2 separate regions of the Homo sapiens genome follow, and region 2 is linked to region 1. Evidence: promoter capture Hi-C in 16 types of primary human blood cells and fetal thymus (Javierre and others, 2016). All regions are on one chromosome and are shown on one strand. The core of a region is centred on a gene start or on the middle of the fragment in contact, and the rest is flanking DNA. Distances in the headings are between cores, read along the strand shown. Region 1 holds the start of RFX7 (regulatory factor X7). Region 2 overlaps GCOM1 (GCOM1, MYZAP-POLR2M combined locus).

Region 1 (6,437 bases), core at 3,267-5,766:
GTATTTGAATAGTTAGGCTACTTAGCCTTAACACTGGGCTATACATTGTTTTAATGACATAATGACATATTTGTGCTCTAACAGAAGAATTCACATTTTCACAGCATACTTACATTAGCACTCTTGGTATTGAGAACATGTATCAAAATTTGCCAATATTAACTTAGTTCTGAACCCCCCAACTTCCCTCTTCTGTAATCTTGCTGCTGCTTTTATTTTTCTCCTCTTCACTCCCTCCCACATCCTCTTCTCTCTAATGCTATTAAAGACTGAAAGAAAGCTCAATCACATTACAGCATTGAAACTTATATATATATAAGCCCTCCTAGGACTACTTGCACTTTGAAAGACAACAGCTTAGCTGAAAGAAATTATCCATCACTTTCTGCTATCAAGGAAGAATTGGGAGAGGTGAAAAGCCTTCTTTCCTTGTTCTCTTAAATAACATGTAGGTCATTAAACTCTACTTTCAGCTTCTAGAGGAGAAAGCTTGCAATGGAAAAAGACAGAGGAAGTAATGATCAGGGGAAAAGAGGATGAGAGGAGTATTTTATTTTTATATTCAAGTTGGGAAAGAAGGAGAACAGGGTAGAACTTTACCTTTTCCATATCTGGTAAACCACCATACTTTGTGGAAGTGAAATGTATACTTTCAGCACTTAATCAGTATGTACCAATAATGAAACCGACTTTCAGGCCTTCCTTTGATAGAACGATCCTAACTATAATGCAAAGTAACATTTTGTAAAGTGGGTTTTTGTCTCTCTCTCCTTCTTTTCCCTCGCCTATACTACTTTAGGATCTGATCACAGAGTCAACACCGTGCTATGCATTATTCCTTCAGCAAACAGTACCCTTTCATGGCTTCACACCAGTGCTCATGTTACTCCCTTTATCTGAAATCATCTTCCCTCTGTTGCTCTGCCTACTCAACTCCTATTCATCCAACAAGACCCAATTAAAATGCCAGCCATGATGCCTTCTCCAGTTCTTCTACCCTGAGCAAGACCAATCCCTCCCTCCATTATGACTCCACAACACTAGTGGATATGTTTATAACTCATCATCTTATATATGTTAATATGTTGCTCTACTTCACAAAAATGTAAACTACTTCAAGTTGGGGCCAGGTCTTATTTATTCATATTTTCCGTGCCCAATACTGCTATATATCAGGCATGATAAATGTATATACTACAGTCTGGACAGTATAAAATGTTTACAGTTTCATAAAGGAGACAAGGTTTACAGACACAAGAGAGCAAGACAATATAATGGATTGGGCTAGGAAAATGAGGGTTAGTTAACTACTAAATTCCACAAATATTTATTAAATAGTCAGGAGTCAGGAATTATGTCCTGGGACTACTAGGATAAATAAAATAGTCATTTCCTTTGAGGTGCTGACAATCCATCTTGTAGATACTCTCTAAATGTGGACAACACTTCCCTGGTTTACCTATAACTTTTCATGTTTTCCTTATAGCAACCCTCTGATGTACATCATTATTTTCATTTTTATAGAGATCGAAACAGAGGGTTTGAATTCCCAGGTCTTCTGACTCCAAGGCCAGGTTTTTCTAACCCACTACATCAGTGTTCCTCAAAATTTTCCTCTGGTGTACACTTTCCCAGTAGAGAATAAACTTAGGCTCCTCAGGGTTGGGTAATACTTGTGTGTTATCTTAAAAAGTCATGCTTACTACAATGTCTTACCTTATTTACCAGAGAGTCAAAATGATGCTCAGAGAAAATGAGCCACATTGATTCTGGGTCCTTGAGGGTCCTCAGTACAGGGTTGCACAATCAAAGGAACCCACATAATATGAGAAGCACATGGCTACACTCCTGCCTTTATTCAGGGTCCCTGGGTTTGGCTTGAGTCCACACTCAAAATTTTGGGTAACTTCATCAGATTTCTTAATGTCATGATTTTATTCACAGTCTTCTCTGAAGACTGGAACAAAACACCCACTGTACTCCCAGATGTTAAGTGAGTAGTGAGGGCTGCCCCTTTCCTCCCTGAAAGGGTATCTCACTCTGGCAATAAGGTCTCCTCAGTCTGATACTCTCTGCCACCCCTCCCATTGCTGGTCTCCTTCAACTCCCTGTAGGTCCTGGAAGGCCGGAAAAGGTTTACCACCACACTCCGGTCAGCACCGCCGCTAGAGGGCAGCCCGCGGCTGCAGCTTCGTGAGCCCTCTAGTGGCTGCTGGGGTGACCTGGCTCTTTTATGGAACCCATTAAAAACTCTCAGAAGTTGCACTTGGGAAGCCAGCCTGTGTGACACCCGGTAGCGAACTTTTTATAAAACGTCTTGGTTCTCGGCTTCCTTTTCTTAAGGCCTTTGGCAGACCTTAGATACGTTACCCCCTCGATGACTCTCCCACTTCCTAAGGATCTCCCCCTCCCAGGGTGTTGCAACTTGGAGCCATCATTCTCTCTTGGCAAGGCAAAAAATTAGAACCTTGGGGAACTTGGCAACTTTCCTCAACGTGATATAGGGCATACACACACACACGTATATATATACCTACATTCAAGATTTTTCAGCGTAATTCCAGTTTCAGCATAGCTTGCAGGCTCTGGAATTAAACTTCCAGGACTCAAATTTTGGCTCCTGCATTTACTAATTGGGTAATTTTAAGAATGTTAATTAACCTAAGCTTCCATTTCATCTGTAACAGAGGGAGACTAATAATACCTACATTATACACTCTTGGGGAGGAATAACTATGATAATGTATGGAAAGTGCTAGTCTGGCACACAAAGTGTTCAACAAACATTAGCTATTTTTATCCTTCAAAGCTTCTGTCTAGTGCACACCATGTCTATCAATTAGGTCCACAAAAATACTGTCTTTACACACCCACATGAAGATATGTATGCAAAATGAATGTCGTAAACCACCTATAGTTTCCTAAAGTGGCTAAGCTAATAGAGACCTTAGAGTATGGAAAAGGGGGCTCATTTGTGTGATGCAACTCGTGCAATGGGTAGTTGGAGCACAGCGTAATCCAAGAGGCCCCGGGGGCGGGGGGGCGGCTTATTTTGCACACAGGTGTTCTTCCTCCCTGCACCCCCACCCTCAACCCTCACCACGTGCAAGCATTCAGTGTGAGTCTGGGCCTTAAGTCTGTGGGCCAGGAGAGAGGGCACAGTGGACAAAAGCAAGAGGGTTTCAGGCCAAGGCAGGGAACTGAGAACTCAAAGGCCAGGCAACCCAAGCCAATCAGATTCACCATCCACTAGGAGTCTAAAAGGTGGCAGAGCCCCACAGCCCAAAGTCCACACACAGCAGGAAAGTGGCCAGAGGATCTAACAGGTAGAAACCTGATAGACACTCTATCAGAAAAGTTAAAGCTGAAGGGCTCATAACACCCACGGGCCCAAAGAAAGGTCAGTGTGAGCTGAACAGCTGTTCCATTTGGTGCCAGAGGCCTTGGCTGTTGTATTCTACATCCACGCAGCCTCCCTGATCAGCCCCACCTAGAAAAGCCAATTCTTCTGCTCTTAAAGGAGACTGACTTATTTGTGGCAAAGCTATCATTTAGGTATGAATGGGAAGGGGGGGAATGGTGCGGAGTCTGCGGGGGGAGGGCGGGTGTTCAACGGGCTCCAAAGGAAGGAGCTCGTGGCTGACGCCTGAGCCTCCATGTTGTGAGTACTACATGCGTTTCTTTCAGAGGCAGGCAGTGGCCTTGGCTGCAGGGACCCTGACAAGCCGCGACTTGAGCTATGCTTTAGAGCCTGGGTGGAATTGGGAGCGGTATAAAGGAGGGAGGGCATTCCTGGAAAGGGGGTGGGGTGGGGTGGGGAGGTGGAGGGGAACAGCATGAGCAAAGGCACGAAGGAAGAATGAATCTGCTGCGCGTTGAGGATGGCATGGAGACTTCCCTGATTGGAGCCGGGAGTTCTTGCAGGGGGATGGAGGCCGCTATGATTGGATAGTTAAAGTGGGGCCAGATTTGGAGGGCTTTGAATGCCCGACCGAGGAGCACTCAACCCAGCTCCTGACTCGCGATTTCCGTTCAAGACCGAATTACCTAAAGGGTGGTTAATTCCAACGGGTGTTCTTCTTTGGGGGCTTCTGAAAAGTCAGTTTATCGTCTTACCTGCTTCAGTTCTCTTCATTTACTCAGGGAGGAAGTAATCCTCACATGCATGTGCAGGGGAAGGGGGATAATGTTGATTTCTCTTTACTTGCTTTGAAGATGCCTCCCCCGCCCAAATCCCATTTCCACGCCAAATATTATTAAATTTGGTTTCTCCTCCTCCTCCTCACGCAAGTTCTCTTTCTCTCGCCAGCACCTCCCCCACGTTTTCCTGCTCTCCACCAGCCGGGCCGGACTCCTCCCGGCCCCCAGCGGCGCGCTTCCCTGGCCCGCTGGCCCGCGCCGCCCTCCGCGCCGTGCGCCCCCATCCCGGCCCGTCGCGCCCGCGGCCCGCACACCCTGGTCCACGCCCCCCGGCGGAGCGGTAGGTGTTGTGCGGTCTGCGCCGGGCCGCAGTGCGGCTGCGCGCACTGGGCTGCCTCCGGGGCTGGCAGGGCAGCGGCGGCCGCGGCGGCGGCGGGGCCGGGAGCGAGCGGCGGCGGCGGCGGCGGCGTGGGGAGTGGCGTGGAGCGGTGCCTGGGGCTGCAGCAGCACGGGGACCCGGCAGTAGAAAGCCCCGGGGACAAGGAAGGAAGGCTTGGCCGCCAAATCCCTGAGCAACCGTTCTTCTTGGATTTTGGGGGGAGCCTGCCCCCCCCACTTCGTCTTCAAACGCCCCCATCTCACCCCCCCACAGCCCCGGCCGCTGACGGGAGGAGGCGGCGGCGCCAGCGGGGGGCTGAGGGGCGCCGCCATGCCTCTCCCGCGGTGAAGCGCCCCGGCCGTGAGGAGCCGCTGGTCTCCCCGGTGATGTTCCCCAGGCGGCAGGCGAAAGCGACTCACTCGAGCCCTGGGGTAAAGGCCTAGCTTATCCAGCTTCCTTCCTCCTCCTCCTCCTCTTCCCCTCCCCCTCCCCCTCCTCCTCTCCCCCCTTCGTCCTCCCCTCCCGGTCTCTTCCCTCACCCTTCCCCGCGCCCCCATCTTTCCCTCCCTCCCTCCCACCCCTCTGCAGCGATGGCAGAGGAACAACAACAGCCGCCACCACAGCAGCCTGATGCCCATCAGCAGCTTCCCCCCAGCGCCCCCAACTCGGGGGTGGCCCTGCCAGCCCTTGTGCCCGGGCTGCCAGGGACAGAGGCCAGCGCGCTGCAACACAAGATCAAGAACTCCATCTGGTAAGAGGATCCTCCATCGCTCGCGTGAAAAAGCCCAGGCACATTTCTGCTGCAAAGTGGGTGGGGGGCGGCGGGCGGGGGGAGCGGAGGAGGAGGCTGATGCATTCATTGAATGTGGCTTTCCCCAGTCGGGTGCACATTTGTAGGATCTCTGGAGGTGTGCGGACTTTGCATCAATCAGCCCCTGTCTTCTTAGCTAAAAAATGCTTTTACCCCTTCCTCAATTGTGAGTGCAGATAAACAAGTTTTTTGGTTTTATTTTTTCACTCATTGTAACAGAAATATGGGTCGAAATTAAGTCATATTGCATGATGGTGGCATGAATTTGGAACTGGAGAATGTGAAATGTGTTTACTCCTTTTTGCAGCCATAGAAGGAGGAAGAAGTGTATTGTGAATTTTCACCAAACAGATACTGTGCGTAAGAATATTAATATGCAGCACAAAACCTAATGTGTCTCTTCCTTTCAGTTGGGTTAGCTGCTATTTCTGAATGTTTTTGCCTCCCTTATCCTAATATTAAATTTCTTTTTCAGGGAGTTTATTCTTTGCATTGATTGTGAAGAAAGTGCTTTTTTAGTATAAAATATTTTAAGATGGTAGTTTACAACAAAGTGGTTTTTTTTTAAATTAAAATATAGGGAATCAAATGTCTTGCCATTTGTATGTCTTTTTAAAAGAAACCATTGATGGAATATCTTTCGCTATTTTACTTTCTTGTATGAAAATTTCCAATATTTCAGCATTAAACTCCTAAAGTCTAGTGGGAATCTTTTAATAATTAAATACACTAAGTCCATCCACTGTTAGAGCCATTGCAATATTCTTTGAACATGAACTTGCATTGTTTTGTAGGATGCTTCATTAACTGCCTTTTTTAAGTGTAGCAATATTTTTTAAATGGAAAGTAATATTTGGAATTTGGTCTAAGATTGCTTTTAATAGAAGTTTAAAAAGAATTTTATATGGTATTTTAAAAAGCCTTGATTTTGAAAATGGAAATGAAATCTTTGCAGGGCCATCATTGAATATGAGTACTAAAATATCAAAACTCATTTTCTCATTTTGAAAACATATCGTAAAGCAACTGGCGTTGCATGAACAGTATTTGCACATTTTTAAAGTGACAATTTTTAAATACAAGATTTAGGTTAGTTATATAGTAATT
Region 2 (6,233 bases), core at 3,686-6,185, 1.5 Mb before region 1:
CAACTGGGTAATGCTTCTGACAGCCACCAGCCTGCTACAGTTGAAGTTACTGACCTCCATTAATATACAACATTGCACTGAAATACACTCCTCTATATAAGAAACTGAGTAATGAGCTTAGCACTACAATACTTATAAATACAGATGCGTTAAATATGGGGGCACATGCACATGTATACACACTCACATAACAATTTGACCTATCAAATGTCAAAAATGACTAATGCTGGGGCCCGGTGCAGTGGCTCACGCCTGTAATCCCAGCACTTTGGGAAGCTGAGGCAGGCGGATCACGAGGTCAGGAGATCGAGACCATCCTGGCTAACACGATGAATCCCCGTCTCTACTAAATATACAAAAAATTAGCCGGGCGTGGTGGCGGGTGCCTGTGAACCCGGCGTGTTCCCGGGTTCACAAGAATGAACAAGAATGGCGTGAACCCGGGAGGCGGAGCTTGCAGTGAGCTGAGACTGCGCCACTGAACTCCAGCCTGGGTGACAGAACAAGACTCCGTCTCAAAAAAAAAAAAAAAAAAAAAAAAAAAAAAAAAAAAAAAGAAGGACTAATGCTGTCTAGATTTCTACAACTGACAGGACCTTCTTCCCTAATTACAATCATGACTTCCAGACTTGGGAATTACATTTCAATGGCAAAATGAAAATCAAGAAATTAATACTAAAAAGCTGACTATTCCTCTCCAAATAAAGTCCTACAGCAACTAGTATCCAATAAAAAGTCCAAGTAAATTTCAGACACTGGCAATGTACTTAAAAACTCCCAAGGACTTTACCACCAACTGATGGTAGGTGGCAATGTCATTCCTAATTCAGTTCTTCCCTTTTCTCATGCTTTCTTGAACTTCTTGATGTCCTCCTCTTCAAGCCATGAATATGGGTCAGTAAAAGTGGGAGCTATTACCACTACAACTTCTCTGCTAAAAAAAAACAATTTAAAGATGAAGGGTTTAATTCAACCTAAAAATATCTTAGGACAGGCATTTAAGAGCTCAGAGACAGTAAACACTTCCTCAATGCTACAGCCATAACTAGACAGTCATTTTAATGCACTGAAAGAAAAATGGTTTTTTTCAAAAAGAGCACCTTGATAATGCCAATCCATGCCAAGGCTTTTATGAAAAGCCAAAGCAGATTAACAGCCTGTTTTGTTGTTTTTTTTTTTGAGACAGGGTCTCACTCTGTCACCCAGGCTATACAGAGTGCAGTGGTGTGACTGCGGCTCACTGCAGCCTCGACCTCCTGAGCTCAAGCAATCCTCCTACCTCAGCCCCACAGGTAGCTGGAACCACAGTTGCATGCCCCAATGCCCGGCTAATTTTTTGGTAAAGATGGAGTCTAGCTATGTTGCCCACGCTGGTCTCGAACTCCTGAACAGTCTGGTGTTATACTAGTTGGTGCACTAGTACCTGACTAAAATCTAGCTAATCAATACCTAGGAAGTGAGACAGGATACTGTTCTCCTGGAGGCTAAAATTATTACTAAATACTTCTAAACTTTTCTGTTCCCCTATGGTCCTTCACACTTATTTTCTCCCATCCCATTATTCTGTATACAAACTCTCAACATACATGTTTGAAGTTCAATGCAAAACACATGGAAACAAAGTGCTATGCAAAATTGATTAAGCTGCCAAAAGCAGGAGATATTTCTCTCTTCACATGGGCCTGCAGATTATGCTCTAAAGCAGTGTCTCACTGTCTGCTGGCTACACAACATTATCCTCCCACTCCTTCTATGCCCTCCCCTGTACTGCAGAAGATGGAAGCCTGGGAACTACATTCTCCTCATTCTCTAACAAGGGGTCTGGGTTTGAGTCCGCCACTGAGAAGCTGTCACATGAGTTTTACAAGGTGAAAGGGAGAGATGCGATGCTACTACTATCCTAACAGGAACAGGCAGGTAAATGAGCTTTAAGACATGAAATTCTACAAGTCTCCCCACATCTCCAGGCAAATCACCACTTTAATGTTGAAGGTAGCTGTGATCATCTCTAGCTACTTCCTGCAGTTCTAGCAACTTTGTGACTCTCTGAAAACTAGTGGCATAGATCTGAGCTCATGGAAGCACCTAATCCCCTCTATTCCATTCCTTCCTCCTTGAACCTGGAGTAAATTCTAGCTTATGTAAGCAGCACCCAACAAACAGACAAGAAAAAAAATACTCTAAATACCTCATAATTCTGTTTCTGCTGTTTCTGAAGTGCCAAGGATTCTTCTATGGAGAGCAGCTGCGTGGGCATATGGTGAAGTGGTAGAAGCCGAGCTGCTGTGATGTCATCAAGATGCTGCTTATCCCTGCGCCGCCGCTCTTCTGAGGAAATAGGAGACCCACTCTTCTGGCAATGACTAGATGAATCATTTTGTCGAAAAGGTAACCTGATGAAAGGAAAACTTGTGTTATACAATCAGATTATTTTATTTGTAGACACATTTAAAACATTCACACAAATGGCCTTTACCTTAGCAATTAATTCTCCTCCAAAGGTAACAGTAAGTAATTTACCAGTATTCATTGCTCTAACAAATAGGGGTGTGTTTGTGTGCATACAGGCTCTTTGCCTTTTCCTTCCTTATTCAAACCTTGTATTTCATCTGGAGTTTTTTTTTTTTTTTTCATTTATTCAAAGAACATTTGCAAAAGGGCTTATTGCCCAGTAGAAAGAAATACACATGTAAAGTTTCAGTGCAATACAATACCAGAGATACTGTGATAGATATCTCAACAAGATACATTGGAACATAAGGAAATGGCCAGTTCTAGTGGGAGACAGGGAGGCTAAGAAAAGTTTCAAAAAAGCTTTGAACAGTCTTGGAATAATAACTGCTTACCCATGTAAATAAGGAGAGAAGTGCATCCCAGCAAGGGGAGTGAGAGAAAGTACAGAAGGTAGACAGACTCAGCTTTTCTGGCTACACAGAAAAGACAGCGAGAAAGAGGGCTGGGAAGTAGCCTAGGCCCAGACTGCAATGAAGAGTTCTCCGTAACAAGTTCGGATTTCCATCTTACAAATTTCACTCTGGCAGCAGTGGAGATAGACTGGTAGTTAAGACTAGAGGTAGAAGGGGCCACAATTACAGCCCGAGAGAGATGAGAGTCTTCACTTCGACAGAAGATGAAGAACAATTATAGAGATGAAGATCAAAGAAATAAGTAGGTCTTCATGGCTAGCAGATATGGAGATGAGAAAAATCGAAGATACCTTAGGGGAAGAAAACCGAGAAGGTGGTGGCACTATTAGGGAATATGGAAATCACCTTGGAAAGAAACTGCAGTTCCACTTTGTACATCATTAAGCTGAGGTACCTGGGAACACCCAAGTGATCAAGTTTCATGGTTAATTGGCTATGCAAACCTAAAGTTCTGGGAAGATCTGGGATAGAGGTGCACAGGGGTCAGCCTCCAGCATCCAGGTGATACATGAAGCCAGAAGAGTATGCAGAAGGAAGAGCAGAAAGGACCCAAAGGACACTACCTGACCCCACCTTCCAACCTCCAAGCCACCTCTCACACGGAACCCTCTCAATCCCTACCTGTCTATGGCCTAAGGACTCCTCAAAGCCCTGCCTTTCCTGTTCTCCTCTAACTTATACAGGAGGCTCCCTGTCTCTTAAACTTCCTGAATTCTTGGTAGCCCTCTTCACTATTCCCTTACCTCTCTCCCACTCCCAGCTAAATGACCATAATACAGAACTGGGATTAATGTATTCTTTGTTTTATTTATTGACTAGATGATGGTTCTAGTTTTCTAAAATGTCATCCTGGAAGTGAAGAAAGATACCCCACTGTACACAAGAGAGTACTTGATCACGTTAATGTAGTATAATCCTGATTTTCTATACAGCAGAAATAAAATGTTTTGAGGTTAAAATGAATGCTGGGGTAGAATTAAAGTCTAACAAAAAAGAAGCATGTTTTAGATACTTTTCACTAGAGGTTTTCTGTTTTTCAAAGAAAGGTAGTAGTGATTTAACTTTGATGTTACATACTTGTAAATACAATATAGGAAGAAGGTACCAGTTACCTGAGTTGAATGTTACATTTGCTGCAAGTAAATAGCAATTATTTTCAAAAAGATTTTACTTTTCCTGAAATTTCAGAAACAAATTTATGGCAAGGAACTGATAAGCAGAGTTTTTGCCTATCCTGCCTGAATCTATTTTCACAGTTTTTCAAACCTCTTCTCAGCTTCCTTCCCCCTGAAACTGTTATTATTATGTAGCTTAACTCTTTTCCAAGTGTGTAAACCTTGGGTCCTCATGTAGCTCTTAAACTCCTTGAAGAACATGGTATTGTATTACATTACACATGTATACATTACAGCCATGTTTTTAAACTTGAGATTTAACATCAAAAAAGGCAAAGGAGTTTTAAGAATCTTGACTTAATTGTGTCCCCACAACACCTGCTGCTTGCTTACATACAGTGAGCATGCAAATAATTTCTGCTGGAAAGCCCATCAGCTCCTGCAATTGCTTTACCCTTAGTTCACAGACTAATCAAAGAGAGTACACTTTGATAGTACACTAATCAAAGCTGTACACTAAAAAATGGTTCTGAAAAAAAGAAGTCATAATAAATTCTCTCCAACTCTGTGTTTATTATGAAATACTGGCTAAGCATCCTAAAATTTAACACTCCCCCATGTGCTTTAAAAGACCTTGTCGATTATTTGGTTTCAAAACTAAATATTTTTCAACATGAATCTTCTACTCCGGCCAGGCTGGTCTCAGTGTTGCCACAACATGTTATTTCCTAACTACAAGTAGTTCTCATACAAAGCCCACGGAACTTAGAGCATTCTCCTGACTTATTTAAGAGAAAAGGTCTTATTATATTGCCCAAGCTGGTCTACAACTCCTGGACTCAAAGCTGTCTTCCCACCTCAGCCTCCTGAGTAGCCTGGGACTACAGGCAAGCACCACCACACCCAGTTTCTCGTAAATTTTTGAGTTTAACAAATATCACGTTCCTGTTACAGGCCTGTTTCCGAGGGTACTTACACATTGGTTTTAAATTTACGCAGCTGGGGCACTGGGTTTTTGGCTCGCATTTCTAGCACTTCCATGTAATGAGGTTTCTTCTCAGTCCCACTGGAAAGGCCTGTCAAGTTCTTAGTACTTGCGTTTTCTTCTGACTGTTGTTCACCTTGGTCCGCAATGGTGATCCTCTGTAACCTGTCAATAAACAGGTTGTCAAAGCTGCTGGAAGTATCTTCCGCTTGACTTGAAACACGATGCCGCGGGTGATGCTCACTAGCTTCAGATGAAGGTGGTACCCTGTCTCTATTGCTGGAAGCTGGGCCCTTATTCACTGTGTACTCAACCTCTGAAGTCTCTTCATCACCTTCAAGAGTAGGACGTCCAAGTCCCTGGTTTTGTGAGGTTTGAGATGACTTGATGTTATCTACAGAGGAACATCCAGGAACTAGTGATGAAGTATCAAGTATCGGGTCAGAATTCTGGGCCTTATCTGTACCCACATCAACTTCTGCAATTGCTTTTTGCCTTAGCTTACAGTCTAAACTAACAGGGTTAAACAGTTCACTTTTTCTTCTAACTTCTTCACATTCTGCAATGGCAGCTTTCAGTTTGGCAAAAGAGTCAAAGATCTTTTTACCTTTGTCGGGCAATTTGCAAATGAATTTTCTGTCAAATGGAAAAGAATACTATTACATTACAGCCATTTTTTTAACTTGAGATATAACATTAAAAAGGCAAGGCATTATCTTCAAAGAAAGAAAAGCTGATTTTTAAGTCAAATATCTGATTTCTAACTGCCCCAAAACAAGAATAAAACAATTAAAATGGTCATTATCCAAATAGCCCAAAAAACAAGGGAATGCAGGAAGAATAGGGAATATATGCCTCATTTGTCTCAGCAAATTAGAATTTCAGCAAAAGTATTTTAAGCATATAATAATCACATAAGACATTCCAAGAACCAGCAGTCATTAAAGTGCAATCTCCAAAATTTGGGGATGGGGTGGAGTGTGGGGATGGGCCTATTAGGTCAAAACTACTTTCATAATAATACTAAGATATTATTTCCCTCTCATTTTCTCGCATGGGTACAGTGGAGTTTTCCAGAGGCTACATGGCATGTGATGACATCATTGTTCTAGAATAGAATGTGTGCTTGTGTATGCTTATGTTTTAAAGACTTCAGACGTATTTCTGATAAGTAAATACATTTCGCTAGATACAACACATAAAATA

The links. Contacts are between HindIII fragments. The CHiCAGO score rates a contact against its expected background, and 5 or more counts as called.
Region 2: a fragment that was not itself captured here is called in contact with the fragment with the promoter of RFX7 in region 1 in 1 of 17 cell types (total B cells); the score reaches 5.4 in total B cells.

What each region holds. Positions count from the first base shown.
Region 1 is chr15:56,241,958-56,248,394 of GRCh38, reverse strand. RFX7 (regulatory factor X7) reads left to right here and starts at 4,516. Exons shown (of 10, transcript NM_022841.7): 1 at 4,516-4,950; 2 at 5,108-5,270. The coding sequence starts at 5,110. It overlaps LOC124903569 (laforin-like), which reads left to right and starts at 3,577. Exons shown (of 3, transcript XM_047433428.1): 1 at 3,577-3,661; 2 at 4,216-4,412; 3 at 4,513-5,044. The coding sequence starts at 3,577. The coding sequence ends at 4,962. It also overlaps a transcript of TEX9 not described here. RefSeq lists enhancers at 2,607-3,252, 3,491-3,540, 3,253-3,898, 3,899-4,544 and silencers at 3,791-3,840, 4,331-4,620, 4,771-4,830, 4,921-4,990. The HindIII fragment of the contact is 5,292 bases long and covers 2,812-6,437 here.
Region 2 is chr15:57,708,144-57,714,376 of GRCh38, reverse strand. GCOM1 (GCOM1, MYZAP-POLR2M combined locus) reads right to left here. Exons shown (of 17, transcript NR_104371.3): 15 at 5,019-5,663; 16 at 2,189-2,393. POLR2M (RNA polymerase II subunit M) reads right to left here. Exons shown (of 4, transcript NM_015532.5): 2 at 5,019-5,663; 3 at 2,189-2,393. Among named protein-coding and RNA genes, the nearest start is that of POLR2M, 4.5 kb to the right of the region's middle. The HindIII fragment of the contact is 4,237 bases long and covers 2,817-6,233 here.